Regions from separate parts of the Homo sapiens genome. Here region 2 is linked to region 1. The links are contacts of gene promoters, found by promoter capture Hi-C in blood cells and fetal thymus (Javierre and others, 2016). All regions are on one chromosome and are shown on one strand. Each heading gives the region's core, a stretch centred on a gene start or on the middle of the fragment in contact. The rest is flanking DNA. Distances are from core to core; before and after follow the strand shown.

Region 1 (6,216 bases), core at 1,672-4,171:
GGTTTGTAGCCTAGGAGCAATAGATTATACCATATAGCCTAGGTGTGGCTATGCCATCTAGGTTTGTGTAAGTGCTCTCTGTGATGTTCATTCAACAACCAATTTGCCTCCTAACTCATTTCTGAGAATGTATCCCCATCGTTAAGTGAAGTAGGACTGTATTGTAATACAGCATGTATCATGGAATATAGTCATCTATTCACTTCTCCCCACACAACCCATACTCTCAACTGTAAGCTCTGTCTAGAGACACATCTGCCATCTAAACATCTAACATAGTTACTGGCACATGGCAGTTCAATAAAGCCTACTAAATAAACTGAATCTATATAACATAGAACACTGCCAACATATATCCTATTAATTTGGTGCCCAAAGTCCACAACAATTGGTAGAACAGTCAATCTGTGAAGAAAACCACCTGAACGGGCAGCTTTACCTCCTTTGTGTTTCCTCTCTTGCTACATCTATAAATAAAAAAATGCAGTTTTGATCTAGTAACATCCAGACTTTATCTTCACTTTGAAAGTACTTGTGTGGATAAGTATAACTTATATATTTGTATAGACAACATTTATAAATTATCCCATAAAATTATAGTATTGAAGGTTACTCACAGCAGAAATGATGAAATCTACAAGGTGGATTTCACTTAATGTATTCATTGTGCCATCAGCACATCTTCTCTCTGGCTTGTCTACTCCACATGAAAGTGCCTCTGATGTTGATTAGCTGTGTGATTTTGTGCATGTTACTTAACTACCCTGATATTCGGCTAACACTTTTTACTCACAGCAGTGTTGTGCGGTTTGAATGATGGGCAGAATCATATGAGAAGTGCAGAAGGCAGTAGAGAACAGGGTTAGGAGCCTGGAGTCCGAGGCCAGACTGCCTGGGTTTGAACCCTGGCTCTGCCCCCTCCCAGCTGTGTGACCTTGGGCAAGTGATGAATCTGCTCTGTGTTCAGTTTTCCCATCTGCCAAGGGATAATGGTACTAATACCCTTCCAGTTATAATGTATCTGAAGCACTTAGAACAATGTCTGGTTCATAGTTAAGCCCTCAAATAAATGCTACCTAAAGTGACAGGAATTCTTAGAGTGCACTGGCACTCAGGAAATATGTTTCCTTTTCTTTTTCCCCTAAACAAACTCCCTGCAGCATTCGTCCACTTTTTCTGCTCTGGTCTTTCCTGGACCTGATGAGGAACCTCTTAAGAGGAAATATGTCTTTTCCTGTCCTTTCAACTCTCTTCACAAAGTCTGGCTTTCTTTGCTTCAAACAGAAGGCTTTGAACTTTGTTGCATACACAAATGATGAGGGAAGCTTGTGGAAAGACACTCTGGTCTCTAGCCTGAGGATTCAGACTCAGAGGACCATGGTAGTCCTCGTTTGGATTTCTGACAAGCTCCATAGATGTTTCTGATATACTTCCCTCTTTGGAGAACTTTAAGTTAAACATTTTTCTGTAGCCCACCCATATTCTCCAGATGGAGATCCAAACTGGGCACAAAACTTCCATGACTGGGTGACCTTTACAAGTATATATCTGCATCTAAAAAATCGATTTTGCATACTTTTTTCTATGAACAATGAGCTAATGTTTGGGGAAGGGAGAGTTCAAATATGAATGTTTTCTCGCCAATTTGTTATGAAAACCACTCCTCTGTGTGTTACACTTTTTGGAACAGAGCGGAGCCCAAGGCTTTTCTGCCCCTCCCAGGAACGCTCACGGCTTACTTTCTTTCCCTGCGGTGAGGAACTCCTGGACCGTGTCGTAGAGGCCGATCCTGAGAGAGGCGGAGCTGATTTGCCGCTGAAGCCCCGCAGGCAGCCCGCTGTAGAGTTTCATCCGCCCTTCTGTTTTTACCACAGCGGTGATTGTTCCCAGGACACCTTTATACCTAATAACACTGGACGTCGGGCATTCACCTTGGACCTGGAAATAAGAAAGGTGCAGAACAGAAGGGAGCGAAATTGAGTTCACTCTTAAGCCAAGATTTCCCCCTGTGTTCCTATTTTCCGTTTCTTTTCTCAGCAACATTCCTCTTCCATCCACCTCCCTCTACCGTGTGTGTGTGTGTGTGTGTGTGTGTGTGTGTGTGTGTGTGTGTGTGTTCGCTCACGCGCAGATGGAGGGAGGCTGGCTACAATGCACATTTTGAATATCCCCCTCCCCAGGAACTCTCCAGAACCCCTAGGGCAGTAGGATAGGACAGAACCCCCGAAGAATCAAAGAAAGGAAAAAGCACCTGACTAGTAAACTCAGGAGAGGCCAATATTCTCAGCTCTTAAAATACTAAGTGCACCCTAAATTTTGGGAGAATTTGGTAGTAGTCATGGTCAACCCATTCTCTGTGGCCCTGGTGGTTCTTCAGCTAATCCCAGAAAAAGTTCCAGTTTCCCATCCTAAAGCACCAGCCCTGGGACAAGGCCAGACTGCTTTGGAAGGTCACCTACCCTACCTAGAAACAGTGGTTACACCAAAGCAGAGAATAAATGGAATGCACGCAACAGCGTCCCCTCTGTCCTGAGACCCCTTGTCTTACCCCTCTGCCTAGCTACCTGGAGCCGGACTTTGGCCGTGTCCAGCGGGAAGGTGATCACGTCCGCCAAGCACGCCGCTATTCCAGCTGAGAAGAGCTGGACCCCCAGGGTCGGGTGTACGTCCGAGGCTGTCAGGCCCCCCATCTTCACTCAGAGACTGGAGATGCAGAGGAAAAGGGCTCCAGCCCCGAAGGTGGAGGAAGTTCCTTTCCCTTGCTCTTCACGCCTGTCCGCCGGGCAGCAAACCCGATTTCTGTTTTTTGAACCGACCGCCGGGCAGCGGCGGTGCAGAGGCGGCGGCTGCAGACGGAGCGCGGTGTTGGGGGCCGAGTCCCCGCGTCCCCTCCTACCCACCCTCGCGCCAGCAGGACCCTCTGCGTTCCGGTCTTCCGCTGGGACTTATATAGCTGGGCCGCTCCCGGGCTGGGCCGCGCGAGGTCTCAGAAGACCCGGGCGTGGGACCTGCCGGGGGCGTGTCCGGGAGCACCGGGTCCCTCCCATTCCCATTCTCGCTCGGTGCCTCGGGAGCCCTGCTTCGCTCCCCGAAAGCCCTGGGCCGGCCGCTGGTTGTCTGCGCCCCGCACACCGCACGTCGGAGGGAGGGCGCACCGCGGCGGTCAGCACCCGCGCCCCCGCACGTGCCTCACCTTCTGTCACCCTTTGGCTGCACACCTTCGGCTGGGGCTTTCGGAAACCAGCACGATATCAGAGCCTTGGTGAAAGGTTCTGCCTAGCTGGAGCTCTCCCAGAAGGAAGAGCGGGGCACTCTTCCATTCCTCCAACTCCCCAGACATCTTGCAGGCACCTTGCGGCCTTCTCTGCTTCCCTTTCCTCTCCTTTAAACTTCTCATCCTCCTTCCTCCGGATTCCTTCTCTTCCCACTACCAAATTCAGACTTGGAAGAATCCCACACAGGAACCAAGAGCACTCTGAACTTGTCAAAAAGAGCGTTTCGTTTCATCACTTTTTGAGAGAAGATGTCAAACGAGACAATAGACACACTAGAAAGCAAATAGTACATTGCTAAAGCACCGTACAAAATGAGATACCACCTGTTCCTTCTAATTAGATTTCTTAGAGGGTGCAGTGGAAAGGACAGGGCAGGTTGCTTGGCTCCAGGTGCAGCTCTCCAGCTTACCAACTCTGTGAACCTGGGAAAGTCATCTGTACTCCAGCTTTTATTTTCAACAGTGTAAAATGTGGTTCCAGAGCTAGCCCAGGTCTGAAATCTCCCTGCTAACTTACCTATAATGATGTAATATGTGTTGGTTGTGTGGCCTTTCCTAGTTCGATCTTTGTGCAAATTTTATTTTCAATGTTTATTCTTGTGAAAACTTAAGAAAACAAAAAACTTTTAAAAAAAACAGTGGGAAATAATAGGAAACTGGAGAAAGAGGGAAATGGACAAGGTCAGGTCCCAGCTTTCAGAACCTCTCAGTTAAGCCAAAGATGGATTTGATATTACCAGAATCCACGTCCAGCTATTTAGGGCCTCTGGTACTCAACCCTGACTTAAGCCCCCCAAAAGAGTCAGTGGAAGTCAGAGTCATCTCCTCCAGGAGCAGGAGAAATAAGACATGAATAAAGAATAATCTCCAAACCCTCTATAAGTAAAGGTTGTGTACTGTGCAAGAAGCCAGTCCTAAGGCACTTCCAAGGGAGGTCAGGCTTGCAGAGCTTCCCTGAAAAAGGCAATGTTGACCTGACGGGTAGCCTCTGAAAAAAAATAGAAAGGAGAAGGAGCCAGCGAGGTTTCTCCTCTGCAAACACTTGTTGAAATAAAGATCAACTGAGGCAAATAAGTGGCATGCATACAGGCAAAGATGTTGGGGAAAGCAAGTCGCGTATATAGAATGCATTCTGTTGGCCTGACTGACTGGGAAATTGGGTGATGGGGAAGAAAGAGAGAGGTAGGGCAAGAAGTTGGTGAGGGATGAGGCTGTAGAAGCCAAATGAGAAGCAGAGCCTGCAAATCCATTATGAGTGTAGCTTCATGTTATCACCTGTGTAGTGCTTTACAGACTATGAAGTGCTCTCACATAAATGTCAGATTTAATTTGATAGACAATACAGCTTTATGAATGATTAGATGTGGAGTCAAAGATTACTCTATGTTTAAGAACATGGGTTGCAAGCTCAGTGACAGTACCAATGATTGTCATGAGGCAGTTGGTAAGGGGGGTGATTTTAGGGGTAAGAAGATTAAACCAATTTTTAAAGTCTTAGAATTATTTGGAGAGAATACTGTTGATATCCAGATAGAGAGCTTAGGAAGCTGCATTTAACATGCTAAAAGAGGAAGAAATAGAGGAGGTATTTGGTAGTCATGATATGGATGCAATGAAAGGGGCATGCTTTTCACGGGAAAATGGGGCTAGTCAAATAGGACTAGGAAAAGAATTCAAGGGCCAAACCATAGGGGGACCCAGACCCAGAGTTATAGTCTGGAAAGAATGGCTTTGTCAAAGGTAGAGTGAGAACAAGAAACAGTAACATATCCAGTGATAGAACTGGTATTTAAGAATATGATTAAAGAAAGATTGGGTCTGACCAGTGTCAAGTTTAGAAAAAATGTCAGGAGGACAAAAACAAAGAAAAACCTACCGGATTTGACTCTAACATTGTTGGTGATCTTAGGGAGTACAACTATGATGGAGTTGTTATGTTGTGAGGCTGATGGCTAAGCAGTGGTTAAGAATGTTGGTATAGTATGACTAAAGTGTACAAGAGGAGACCTTATTCCTTGTTGACTCTAGTGAACCTCTGCTATCAACAGGTTAATTCCCAGTCCTCACCCCAAAGCTACCCATGAATCTTTCTCAGTGGTTCTGTCTGTAGTAGTTTTAAAACATAATTGCAAATCCATCACATTCCTCCCATCAAAAGATGAGGGTACATATGCCTTCCCCTTGCATCTGGCAGGCTTATGAATGTTTTGACCAATAGAATAATACAGAACTGATGCCATGTGGCTTCTGAGACCAGATTATAAAAGTCCTTGTATCTTCTGCTTTACTCACTGCAACATTTGCTCTTGGAGCCCTGGGCCAGCATGTAAGAAAGCAAACTTCTCTGAGGCTGTTCATGCTGGAGAGGCCCCACATCATCATCCCTCTTTACCAAGGCACCAGGCACCAGAGTACAGCTATCTTGGACCCTCCAGATAAGCCTACCTGACAGTTGAATACCACCAAGTGATCTCCTATGATGTCAGTAAAGCAGAAGAATCGCCTAGCTGAGCCCAGTCTAAATTCCTGATCCATAAAATTGTGAGATATAATAAAATAATTATTGTATTAAGGTAGCAAAAGATAACTGTAACAGCACCTTTACTTGTTTGAGCAGTTGGGAGGGGCATGCATTCTCTCTTTGCCCCATCCTACTTTCACAACGAGGAAGGAGTTCAAGGCAGTGGGTGGGTAAAGAGTTTTAGATTTGGACTATAAGAAGAAGCCACAATACATTTGTAAAGAAGAAGCAAGGTAAATTAAAATTGTCTTTTTTTCCCCATAAGGCACATGTTTGCATGTTTTAAAGCCAGAGTATGACAAACTAGAGGAGAAAGTGAGAGGAAAACTATGATAAGGGAAGGAAATGTGAGAAATAAATAAATCTATTAGAAATAAGAAAGGTTGTTATCCAAAACAGGTAAGGATAGGTAGGGAGAGAG
Region 2 (6,216 bases), core at 2,655-5,154, 210 kb before region 1:
TTTGTACTCTCTCTAAAGACCTGTGAATTAAAGGCTCCTCACACACCCAGGATACAATAGTGAGGGATAGGACAGCATACATGCTCTTCCTCCGCATGGAACTCTAAACAAGATCCCATTTTTTCTTTAGTCGCTTGGGTTCTACTACCAGGCAGGCAGTGTGCTAGAGTCAGAAGACTTTTTGTCGCCCCCTTGTGGTGAGGCTTCAGGCAAGCCACTTGACTCCTCTGGGTCTCATTTTCCAGGTATAATGAAATAAGACTGACAGGTCCCTTGAGAACTATTTCAGCTCAACAGTTCTGTGATTTCGTGAAATGCCAAAATTGTGCTACTTGGATATGAACAGACACAAATCATTGTGCATAATTAAGAACATTCCACAAGTAGAGAATGTTACTAAAGGATAAAATTAAAGTATGAATTAATAAAGAAGTAAATTTTGTGGGAAATAGAAGCTGATTTTGAACCAATTTTGCCACTAGAGGTCACCAGCATACCATCTCAAAGAGAATAAATAGGCTTTTGTCACTAATAGTTCCCTGTGTAGAACCCCTAAGTGGCATTCACGGTGTCTTTTCATTTACTTGGAATATCTCCTGACAGTTGTCAGAGACATATGTTATGATGAGGTGATGTCAGTGTCCCTCTAGGTGATGTTCCCAGTGTACCTAACGTTCTGTAAGCGTGAAGAGCCACCACCGGAACAGTAAGGAAAATGACTTTCTAGGATTTTCTGCTTTCTCACTGGGATGCGATGAGGGGCAGAGAGATAACTTGATAGGAAGTAATATAAGCTCTGAGGCGAAAAGGCAATGTGGAAATCCAGTGTCATCCTCAAATGCAGCACAGACATGTCAGCTTTTTTATGACACAGAGAAAGTACGGACTGGGAACAGAGCACTCGTTTATTCAGCCAATGTCTGTGGACCTGCCTTCAGGCACTGTGCTTGGCAGGGGCTATATCAATGGAGAAGATGCAGTTACTACCCTCAAGGGATTTAAGAAATGAAGTACAGGAGGTTTCTATTCAGATTCAATATTTTAATAAAAAATGTTTTTATTAATGGCCATTGACTTCTACTGATGCTTCCTGAATCTCCAGCTCGTGTGGTTCTCTTCCTTTTTGAACTTTAGATATCCATCCAGCACCTTCTGCGACATTTTGTAGTATTTCCCTTAAGATACTGTATAAAGAAGGAGGAAGAAAAATAGGAATTTGACACAGAACTAAAGATTATTCCATTTAGAGGTTTTTGGGAGAAGCAGGCTGGGATGGGCCCTGAGTTTCGCTACATATTTTTGCTGGTATGCCAAGAGTACTGACACCATGCCAGGCAACTTCTCTCAGATTTTCTTATTTTATCTTGCTGACAGACCTGTAGGGACAGGCACTGTAATCACCATTTCTGTCAATGGTCCCTTGCAGCACGGCAGTGGGTTTTTTTTTTTTTTTCTGGAAAGTGATGCTAAGAGTACACTTTAGGACTTTTATATCAAAGCTAGAACTGACTGTCACGTGACAATGTTAAAATGCTGACTTCAGTTGCGGCCAATGGTGCTTGTTAGGAAAAACTCTATTAAACTGTATTTTAGGCCAGCGCAGTGGCTCACACTTGTGATCTCAACATTTTGGAAGGCCAGGGTGGGAGGATCACTTGAGCCCAGGAGTTTGAGACCAGCCTGGGCAATATAATGAGACCTCATCTCTACAAGAAATAAGATTAGCGAGGCATGGTTCTGTGCCTGTAGTCCCAGCTATTTGAGAGGCTGAGGCAAGAGAATCACTTGAGCCCAGGAAGTTGAGGCTGCAGTGAGCCATGACTGTGCCACTGCACTCCAGCCTTGGTGACAAAGTGAGATCCTCTCTCTAAATAAATAAAATAATGTATTTTAACGTAAAACTCTTTGGGTGGGACAAACAATGCTCCAAGTAAAATTAATACCTTGAAACGTAAAGAGTCATGGAGATCTCCTGTGAAGAAACTTCTGTGAGTGACAAGAATGGATTCAGAATACCTCTGAGGACTACATCTATTTTCTCCCAAAATGAAAGCTACAAGATACTTTCTTGTAATGCGCTTCATGTAGTACAAAAAGAAAATCTACAAACTCTAGAACTCATAATTCTATAATAAAGAATGAGTTGCAAGGAATTCTGGGCTCTTTCAATAACTTGAGGAGCTATTTCTTCTAAGGCTGAAGGGGACTTGAACTTGATTTAAATTGGTTGTCATCAGCCTTTAGAGCAGACACTGAGAGTGATTCTGAGCACGACACAGACACAGCCCCTATCCCTTAGTAGCAAGGCTTTCTTTAGTTTTCTGCCTTCACTGAAGAAGGAAAGAGAGAGCCTGGCCATATCTTTGCTTCACACTGGGCATGATTTGCTTCACTGCGATGAGTGTTACTAACTATCCTGGTAATTACTAATTTTAAGCAATTGTTTTAAAACAAACTAAAGACCGGCTAAAGACAGGTGTGTCCTTACTTCTTCTTCTTCTTCTTCTTCTTTTTTTTTTTTTTTTGTGAGAGTCTCGCTCTGCTGCCCAGGCTGGAGTGCAGTAGTGTGATCTTGGCTCACTGCAACCTCCACCTCCTGGGTTCAAGCGATTCTCCTGCCTCAGCCTCCCAAGTAGCTGAGACTACAGGCCAAGCCACCATGCCCGGCTAATTTTTGTATTTTTATTACAGACAGGGTTTCACTATATTGGCCAAGTTGGTCTGGAACTCCTGACCTCAAGTGATCTGCTCACCTCAGCCACCAAAAGTGCTGGGATTACAGGCGTGAGCCACTGTGCCCAGCTGTTACTTCTTATTGTTGTAGGGTTTGGTCAAATAGTGGAAAAGAAAGGTTAGGGAGGGAGCTACAAAAATACTACTTGACTTATTTTAAAAATATTTCTATTAATGGCCACTGACTTCTACTGATGCTTCTTTAATCTCCAGCTGGTGTGGTTCTCTTCCTTTTTAAACTTTAGATATCCAACCAACATTTTCTGAGACATTTTGTGGTATTTCCCTTAGGATACTATATAAGGAAGGAGGAAGAAAAACAGGAGTTTGACACAGAACTAAAGATCATTCAATTTAGAGGTTTTTGGGAGAAGCAAACTGGGATGGGCCCTGAGTGTCATTGCATATTCTTGCTGGTATGCCAAGAATACAGTCAACCCAGGCTTTACTCAGGTATGTTTTCAGAGAGCAACTTTAAGGGATGAGGTAATGCCTCTCTGGTTAAAGAGCAAGCTTGCTTCCACTTGCCATAAAAGCCAAAGATTCCCCAAACTCAATGTTCCTCTCCTATATTATAACCCGCTGCATGTATAGGCATCTACAGGGGCCCTCTGCCTCATCCCTGTGGGACTTGGGGGACATAGGTAACAGCAACAAATCAGCATGAAGCTCATGATGAGCTGGGAGTAAGAGAGTCCTTAGACTCTGACCCAGACATCTCATGTCTTCCGCCAGCATTCATGAAACAGGCAATCGTTAGCTTGTAAGTGCAGCTGACCTTTGAACACCATGGGTTTGAACTGCATGAGTCCACTTGTATGCATTTTTTTCAGTAAATATAATGGAAAATTTTTTGGAGATTGTGACAATTTGGAAAAATTCACAAACTTCATAGCCTAGAAATATATAAAAAATTAGGTATGTCACAAATGCATAAACATATGTAGATACTAGTCTGTGTTACTATTACCATAAAATATCACAAATCTATTATAAAAAGTTACAATTTATCAAAACTTATGCACATGCTTACAGAGCACACATGGCACCATTTGCAGTTGAGAGAAATGTAAACAAATGTACAGATGCTGTATTAAACCATAAGTGCATAAAATTAACTGTAGTACATACTGTACTACCATCATAATTTCACAGCCACTTCCTGCTGCTATTGCTGTGAGCTTAAGTGCTGTGAGTATCCACTTAAAATGCCATGGGATGCTAATTATCTCTGTGTGAGCAGTTCATCTCTCTGGTAAATTGCCTATAGCAGTAAAAAGTAATCTCTTGTGGTTCTCTAGTGTTTTTTCATTGTGTTTAGTGCAATACTGTAAACCTTGAATAACACCATGGCACCCATACAAAGTGCCACTAGTGATGCTGGAAGTGCTCCCAAGAAGCAGAGAAAATTCATGACATTACAAGACAAAGTTGAATTGCTTGATATGTATTGCAGATTGAAGTCTGCAGCTGTGGTTGCCCACCGTTTCAAGATAAATGAATTCAGCTTAAGAAAGATTGTAAAAAAAGAAAAGGAAATTCATGAAGCTATCACTGCAGCTACACCAGCAAGCATGAAAAACTTACACTTTTTGCAAAATACCTTTTTATCTAGTATTGAAAATGCAGTTTTTCTGTGGGAATGCAGGATTGCTATAAGAAAGGCATACCTACTGTGATGTGATTTGAGAAAAAGCGAAGTCATTATATGACAACTTAGAGCAAAAGGAAGGCGAAGGATGTAAACCTGAAGAATTTAATGCTGGCAAAGGATGGCTTAATAATTTTAGGAAGAGGTTTGGCTTTAAAAATGTCAAGATAATTAAAGAAGAAGCTTCTGCCAATCAAGAGACAGCAGACAAGTTTCCAGATGCCATTAAGAAAATCATTGAGGAGACAGAATATCTGCCTGAACAGGTTTCTAATGCAGATCAAAGTGCCCTATTCTGGAAAAAAAATCCACAAAGGACATTTATTAGTAAGGAAGAGAAGTGAGCACCAGGATTTAAGGCAGGAAGGGATAGGCTACCTATACTGTTTTGTGCAAATGCAGGGGGGTTATGATCAGGACTGCCCTTATCTATAAAGCTGCTCATCCCTGAGCCTTGAAGGGAAAAGAAAAACATCAGCTGCCAGTCTTAATGGCTGTACAACAAGAAGGCCCAGACAATGAGAACCCTTTTTCTGGATTGTTTCCATCAATGCTTTGTCCCTGAAGTCAGGAATTACCTTGCCCATAGGGACTACCTTTAAATTTTTTTCTGATATTGGACAGTGCCTCTGGCCACCCAGAACCCCATGAGGTCAAAACTGAAGCTGTCAATGTGGTCTACTTGCCCCCAAACACAATGTCTTTAATTCAGCTTCTAGATCCTTGGCTCTTAAGAACCCTTAAGCCTTATTACACAGGGTACTCAATGGAAAGGACTGTCAATGCCATGGAAGAGAATTCTGATAGAGAGAGCATCATGACAGTCTGGAATGATTACACCATTGAAGATGTCATCGTTGTTATAAAAAAAAGTTGTGAAGGTCATCAAGATTGAAATAATAAATTCCTGCTGAAGAAAACTATCCAGATATTGTGCATGACTTCACAGGATTTACCACAGAGCCAATCAAAGAAATCATGAAAGATATGGATATGGCAAAAAAAAAAAAAAAGTGAAAAGTGAAGGGTTTCAAGATCTGGATCTTGGAGAAATGTAAGAGCTAACAGATACCACAGCAGAGGAATTAACAGAAGAAGACATGGTGGAGATTGGTGCTTTCAAACCAGTGCCACATGATGAGAAAGAAGACATAGAAGAGGCAGTGCCAGAAAAATTGACATTAGACAATCTGGCAGAAGGGTTCCAGTTATTCAAGACTGCTTTTGACTTCTTGGACAAAAAGAATGGCATGGCTTCTATGATACAGGCACTGAAACTTCTTTGATAAAGGCACTGAAACCAAAGCAGTGGAAGAAAGGTGTTACCATATAGAAACATTCTAAGAGAAATGAAAAGGAGCAAAAAGTCAGACAGAAATTACAATGTATTTTCATAAAGTTTCACTGAGTGTCTGACTCTCCTTCCTCCCTTTTTCTCCTCCATCTCTTCTGCCTCTGTTGCCTCTGGGACAGGAAGACCAACCCCTTCTCTTCCTCCTTCTCCTCAGCTTGTTCAATGTGAAAATGAAGAAGATGAAGACTTTCATGATGACCCACTTCCACGTAATGTAAATATATTTTCTCTTCCTTCTTACTTTCTTAATAACATTTTCTTTTCTCTAGCTTACTTTATTGTAAGAATACAACATATATACAAAATATGTGTTAATTGACTGTTTATGTTATTGGTAGTGCTTCCAGTCAACATAGGTTATTAGCAATTATACTTTGGGGGAGTCAAAAGTTATACATGGATTTTCCATTACACAGGGTATTGGCACCTCCTAAGCCCCACATTATTCAAGGGTCAACTGTAGGGTAACATCCCAGAT

Evidence for each region. The method cuts DNA at HindIII sites, captures the fragments that hold promoters and counts their contacts. A CHiCAGO score of 5 or more calls a contact.
Region 2: a contact is called between a fragment that was not itself captured here and the fragment with the promoter of UCP1 in region 1, in 1 of 17 cell types (endothelial precursors). The highest score is 5.3, in endothelial precursors.

What each region holds. Positions count from the first base shown.
Region 1 is chr4:140,566,040-140,572,255 of GRCh38, forward strand. It overlaps UCP1 (uncoupling protein 1), which reads right to left and starts at 2,922. Exons shown (of 6, transcript NM_021833.5): 1 at 2,565-2,922; 2 at 1,740-1,938. The coding sequence starts at 2,690. The HindIII fragment of the contact is 4,953 bases long and covers 1,324-6,216 here.
Region 2 is chr4:140,359,791-140,366,006 of GRCh38, forward strand. All of the region lies in intron 2 of SCOC-AS1 (SCOC antisense RNA 1), which reads right to left. It also overlaps a transcript of SCOC not described here. Among named protein-coding and RNA genes, the nearest start is that of SCOC-AS1, 10 kb to the right of the region's middle. The HindIII fragment of the contact is 1,321 bases long and covers 3,245-4,565 here.